2 separate regions of the Homo sapiens genome follow, and region 2 is linked to region 1. Evidence: promoter capture Hi-C in human tissues and cell types (Jung and others, 2019). All regions are on one chromosome and are shown on one strand. The core of a region is centred on a gene start or on the middle of the fragment in contact, and the rest is flanking DNA. Distances in the headings are between cores, read along the strand shown.

The links. The method cuts DNA at HindIII sites, captures the fragments that hold promoters and counts their contacts. A contact is called where the count stands out against the background at its distance.
Region 2: a fragment that was not itself captured here is called in contact with the fragment with the promoter of ACOT4 in region 1 in 1 of the 25 tissues and cell types used here (dorsolateral prefrontal cortex).

Annotation. Positions count from the first base shown.
Region 1 is chr14:73,590,581-73,593,894 of GRCh38, forward strand. It overlaps ACOT4 (acyl-CoA thioesterase 4), which reads left to right and starts at 1,293. Exons shown (of 3, transcript NM_152331.4): 1 at 1,293-1,836; 2 at 3,122-3,314. The coding sequence starts at 1,380. It also overlaps a transcript of HEATR4 not described here. RefSeq lists an enhancer at 1,527-2,026 and a silencer at 1,838-1,907. The HindIII fragment of the contact is 17,984 bases long and covers 1-3,314 here.
Region 2 is chr14:73,063,608-73,066,851 of GRCh38, forward strand. All of the region lies in intron 1 of RBM25 (RNA binding motif protein 25), which reads left to right. Among named protein-coding and RNA genes, the nearest start is that of RBM25-AS1, 5.8 kb to the left of the region's middle. RefSeq lists enhancers at 1,341-1,841, 1,842-2,342. The HindIII fragment of the contact is 8,376 bases long and covers 1-3,244 here.

The DNA.
Region 1 (3,314 bases), core at 43-2,542:
GGGGGCTCAGGCATGGCGGGCTGCAGGTCCCGAGCCCTGCGCCGCGGGGAGGCAGCTAAGGCCCGCTGAGAAATCGAGCACAGCAGCTGCTGCCCCAGGTGCTAAGCCCCTCACTGCCCGGGGCTTGCGGGCCGGCCGGCCGCTCCAAGTGCGGGGCCGCCGAGCCCACGCCCACCCGGGACTCGCGCTGGCCCGCAAGCCCCGCGGGCAGCCCCGGTTCCCGCCCGCGCCTCTCCCTCCACACCTCCCAGTAAGCTGAGGGAGCCGACTCCGGCCTTGGCCAGCCCAGAAAGGGGCTCCCACAGTGCAGCGGCGGGCTGAAGGGCTCCTCAAGCGCGGCCAGAGTGGGCGCCAAGGCCGAGGAGGCGCCGACAGCGAGCGAGGGCAGCCAGCATGCTGTCACGTATCACTAGCACTTTGGGACTACAGAGGCAGGAGGATAGTTTGTGCTCAGGAGTTCGAGACCAGCCTGGGAAACAGGGTGACACCTCCTCTCTAAAAATAAACATTTAAAAATTAACGTGGCATGGTGGTGCGCTGTCTGTAGTCACAGCTACTCCGAAGGCTGAGACAGGAGGATCACTTGAGCCTGGGAGGTGGAGGCTGCAGTGACCTGTGATCGAGCCACCGCCTTGCAGCCTGGATGACAGAGAGAGACCCTGTCTCAAATACAACAAAAAAGCAGGCCGGGCGCAGCGGCTCACGCCTGTAATCCCTAGCACTTTGGGAGGCCAAGGCGGGAAGATCACTTGAAGTCAGGAGTTCAAGACCAGCCTGGCCAACATGGTGTAACTCCCTCTTTACTAAAAATACAAAAATTAGCGGCATGGTGGCGCGCGCCTGTAATCCCAGGTACTCGGGAGGCTGAGGCAGGAGAATCGCTTGAACCCAGGAGGCGGAGATTGCAGTGAGCCGAAGCGCCACTGCACTCCAGCCTGGGCGACAGAGGAGACTCTGTTTCAAAAAAAAAAAAAGTTAAAAACAAAACCTTCCATGGAGCCCATGAAAGGCTGGAATTTGGCTTGATCTCATTGGCTTTTGGTTTCACCACAAATTGATCATCCAACAACTTTCATTCCAACAACCGAGGGTGGTGTGAGGCAGAGAGGCTTTCTACGGGGTGGGTTGGGCGCCACACCTTGCGCGCCCCGGGGCCCAAGGAGACGACCCTGAAGAGGAGCCTGGCTACTTTTGCCTCAGACGAGTCCGGAGCGCCGGGTTAACCGGTCTGAAGTCCCAGGGGCTTTCTGGGACTGCTCAGCCACCGGCAGCTTCCGGCACCAGGGGACGCCGGACGCCGTCCGGACATTCGGCGCGCTTGCCACGATCTTGGACGGGTCTCGGGCCTCGACCTTTGAATTCCCCGCTCCGGCTCCAAGATGTCAGCAACGCTGATCCTGGAGCCCCCAGGCCGCTGCTGCTGGAACGAGCCGGTGCGCATTGCCGTGCGCGGCCTGGCCCCGGAGCAGCGGGTTACGCTGCGCGCGTCCCTGCGCGACGAGAAGGGCGCGCTCTTCCGGGCCCACGCGCGCTACTGCGCCGACGCCCGCGGCGAGCTGGACCTGGAGCGCGCACCCGCGCTGGGCGGCAGCTTCGCGGGACTCGAGCCCATGGGGCTGCTCTGGGCCCTGGAACCCGAGAAGCCTTTTTGGCGCTTCCTGAAGCGGGACGTACAGATTCCTTTTGTCGTGGAGTTGGAGGTGCTGGACGGCCACGACCCCGAGCCTGGACGGCTGCTGTGCCAGGCGCAGCACGAGCGCCACTTCCTCCCGCCAGGGGTGCGGCGCCAGTCGGTGCGAGCGGGCCGGGTGCGCGCCACGCTCTTCCTGCCGCCAGGTGAGCCAGGCTGCTGGCGGGTGGTGTGAGCGTCAGTGGCCTGAGTCTCCGTTTGTTTCCAGTGCTGATTTAGCACTGGTTTGGTTTTGGAGCAAGATCAGAGAAGCTAACATTGACTATGTCAGTGGCCACTCTACCAAAATAGAGGGTTTGGTACCGGGCGTGGTGACTAACGCCTGTAATCCCAGCACTTTGGGAGGCCGAGATGGGCGGATCACTTGAGATCAGGAGTTTGAGACCAGACTGGCCAGCATGGTGAAACGCTGACTCTACCGAAAATACAAAAATTAGTCCAGCCTGGTGGCACACGCCTGTAGTCCCAGCCACTCGGGAGGCTGAGGCACGAGAATCGCTTGAACCTGGGAGATGGAGGTTGCAGTGAGCCGAGATCGCACCACTGCACTCCAGCCTGGGTGACAGAGCGAGACTCCGTCTCAAAAAAAGAAAAAAGAAAAAAAAGGATTTTTTGTTAGGCTGTGTACTACGGTTTTTACTTGCATTCTATCAGTTAGTCTCTATAATATCCCAATGAAGTTGGTATTGTTATTCTGCAGATGAAAAAACAGGTTCAGGTCGTCAGGTACATTATCCACTTTGCTATTAATCACTACCCTACAGATTTCTACAGGCATCAGCCTGACTTGTCTAAGGCAGAATGATGACAGTGAATGAAGCTATTACCATGTCGTCTTCTCTAGTGTTCTAGGCACACTGTCTCTTCTCCACTTCTTCATGTGCTGCTTTATCACAGGTCACACTTCAGACTCCACTGCCTTTCTCACCTAAAACCATCTCTGGGTATTTCTTTTTCTTTCCTCCCTTTCTACATAGACATCTGAAATATCAGTACACTAAAAACCAGAGGGCTGATGCAACAGAACATAAAGTTTTGTTTCAATCTTTTTTCTTTTCTTTCTTTCTTTTTTTTTTTTTTTTTTTTGAGACAGTGTCTGTCTCTGTTGCCCACGCTGGAGTGCAGTGGTGTGGTCACACCTCACTGCAGCCTTGACCTCTGGGGCTCAAGTGATCCTCCCTCCATTGCCTCCCAAGTAGCTAGGACTACAGGCATACACCACCACACTGACTAATTAAAAAAAAAAAAAGATTGTAGAGATGGGGTCTCACTACATTGTCCAGGCTGGTCTTGAACTCCTGGCCTCAAGCAATCCTCCTGCCTTGGCCTCCTAAAGTGCTGAGATTACAAGCATGAACCACAGTGTCCAGCCAGGAAAGCAAATTCTTTAAATTGTATAATGGCTTACATTTATAATATTTTGTTCTCTAGGACCTGGACCCTTCCCAGGGATCATTGACATCTTTGGTATTGGAGGGGGCCTCTTGGAATATCGAGCCAGCCTCCTTGCTGGCCATGGCTTTGCCACGTTGGCTCTAGCTTATTATAACTTTGAAGATCTCCCCAATAACATGGACAACATATCCCTGGAGTACTTCGAAGAAGCCGTATGCTACATGCTTCA
Region 2 (3,244 bases), core at 370-2,869, 530 kb before region 1:
CCTATTGGCTGCCTTCAAAATATATCCAGGATCCAACAACTTGATAGCACTTTCACCACTACCACCTGTTCCAGGCCACCATCTCTCCAGGCTACCATCTCTTATATGGATTATTGTACCAGTCTCTTGCTTGTATCCTGTTCCCTTCCAGGCTTAACACAGTGGCCAGTGATACTGTTAAAATGTGACAAGTCAGAAACTCTTCAAATGATTTTCACCTCATTCAGAGTTAAAACTAAAATGTTTATTTACATTGTGTTACATAGCCCTACACTCTACTCATAATACTCAGTATTTATTTCTGATTTTCTTCATTTATTCTGCTCCAGTCATACTGTTGGCCTTGCTATTCCTCCCTCAAATACACCATTCCTGCTTCAGCCTCTTTGTATTTGTCTTTTCCTTTGCTTGGAAGTCTCTTTCCCCCAGATATGAATAGGGCTTCCTGCCTCTGCCTCTTTTAAATCTTTGTTCTAATCTTCACCTTCTTGGTGAGGCCTAATCGCTGTATTTAAAATAAACTACTCCATAGCTCTCTTCCCTAATTTATTTTTCTACAAAGTACATACCATCTTTCAATGTATTATAATTTATTTTGTTTATCATCTATAGGTAACAGATAAGCTTTGCTTATGATTATGAAAGTTAATTCTCAATCAGTTTCACATGGCAAAACACATAAACCTGTGTTGAAATAAGTAGTTGGTAATCTTTTAGGCTGCTTAAAGTGGACATTAGTATTTATCAAAGATGAGAAATGTTTTCTGATTTTCCATGAGAGACCAATCTTTTTTATTTTTGTTTTGAAATGGAGTCTCGCTCTGTCACCCAGGTTGGAGTGCAGTGGCGCGGTCCCAGCTCACTGCAACCTCTGCCTCCCAGGTTTAAGCAATTCTCCTGCCTCAGTCTCCCGAGTAGCTGGGACTACGGGCGCCTACCACCATTCCTGGCTAATTTTTGTATTTTTAATAGAGACGGGCTTTCACCATGTTGGCCAGTCTGGCCTCGAACTCCTGACCTTGTGATCCGCCCGCCTCAGCCTCCCAAAGTGCTGGGATTACAGATGTGAGCCACCGCGCCCAGGAGAGGCCAGTTATCTTAAAGGAATATCCATAAAAATTAGCTGTTAACTGGTATTTTTGCCTTCACCTTTGAAGTCCAGCCTATCAACAAGCAAGTTTTGGCAGCTCCAAATAAAGGGGAATATGTTATGGAAAAATTTGAAGTGAATGGAATGGGTATATTGGCATAAACGAAAATTAAATATATCTGGTTAACTCTGCAGAATGAATTACACATTTAAAAACCATAAAATATAACTTAAATACCAAGAATATAGAGTTTTACTTTTTTTTTTTTTTTAGACGGAGTCTTACTCTGTCGTTCAGGTTGGAGTGCAGTGGCGCGACCTCGGCTCACTGCAACATCTGCCTCCCAGGTTCAAGCAATTCTCCTGCCTCACCTTCCAGAGTAGCTGGGATTACAGGTGCGCACCACCACACCTGGCTAATTTTGTTTGTTTGTTTGTTTGTTTTCTTTTGAGACAGAGTCTCACTGTGTCACCCAGGCTAGAGTGCAGTGGCGCGATCTCGGCTCACTGCAACCTCGGCCTCCCGAGTTCAAGTGATCTCCTGCCTTTGCCTCTTGAGTAGCTGGGATTACAGGCACCCGCCACCACACCCAGCTAGTTTTTGTATTTTAGTAGAGACGGGGTTTCACCATGTTGGCCGGGCTGGTCTCCAACTCCTGACCTCAAGTGATCGGTCTGCCTCGGCCTCCCAAAGTGCTGGGATTACAGGGGTGAGCCACTGTGCCCAGCTAATTTTTTTTTTTTTTGAAACTGAGTCTTGCTCTGTCGCCAAGGTGGAGTGCAGTGGCGCAGTCTTGGCTCACTGCAACCCCTGCCACCCAGGTTCAAGCAATTCCCCTGCCTCAGCCTCCTGAGTAGCTGGGACTACAGGCGCACACTACCATGCCTGGATAACTTTTTGTATTAGATACGGGGTTTCGCCGTGTTGGCCAGGATGGTCTTGATCTCCTGACCTTGTGATCTGCCTGCCTTGGCCTCCCAAAGTGCTGGGATTACAGGCATGAGCCACCTCACCCAGCCCAGTGTTTATATTTTTAGTGGAGACAGGGGTTTCACCATTTTGGCCAGGCTGGTCTCGAACTCCTGACCTCCAGTGATCTGCCCGCCTTGGCCTCCCAAAGTGCTGGGATTACAGGTGTGAGCCACCGCCCCTGACCGAGAGTTTTAGTTTTTAAGCATTATTTATATCTAATATTATTGGGGGAAAAGTGGTTTTAAAAATGAGTTCATGGCCCAGTCTTGTAACCATTGTGAGGCTAGGCACTGGGCCATTGCTAGAATATAGTATGCGGCATGAGATAGCATAATAAATTTGTTTATTGAAGTCCTCAGAGTTTGTTTACTGATTTATTCATTAATCAGTTTATTCAACAGGTATGAAAACCAACTATCCTAAGAAAGCACTGAGATAGGCTATTATAATGATAATAGAAGAGCTTCTGTAAGTAGGACAGTAGCCCTTTCTGTTTTAAAAAGAGATACCACCCCCAGTTTTTGGTTTTGGTCAAAAAGTTTTACAGAAAGTTTATTTTAAAACTCAACACATTTACAGTCTTGCAATCTTGTGTTTTTCATTGTTAATATGTACTGATAACCTACCTACTGTTTAAAACATTTCTAATACCTCATTTGCCAAGTATATTAAATCCTCCTAAGGGCTGGGCGCAGTGGCTTATACCTGTAATCCCAGCACTTTGGGAGGCCGAGGCCGACGGATCACTTGAGGCCAGGAGTTTGAGACCAGCCTGGCCATACATGGTGAAACCCCGTCTCTACTAAAAATACAAAAATTAGCTGAGCTTGGTCGTGCGTGCCTTGTGGTGTGCACCTGTAATCCTAGCTACTTGGGAGGCTGAGGCAGGAGAATCGCTTGAACCCGACAGGCGGAGGTTTCAGTGAGCTGAGATGGTGCCTCTGCACTCCTGGGTGACAGAGCAAGACTCCATCTCAAAAAAAAAAAAAAAAAAATGCATCCTAGGGATTCCTTTACCTATAAAGTTTTCTAAATATTTTAAGTATACTGTGTTTTCTGAAATTGAAGTTTAGTTTTATTGAATATGGTATTATCCCAATTTAAGTCAAAGGAATTCTGAGGAAGTAGAGCTGTGAGCATGTAGGTCATGCTTTTCTGTTTTAAAGAAATGTCTAGTAAAC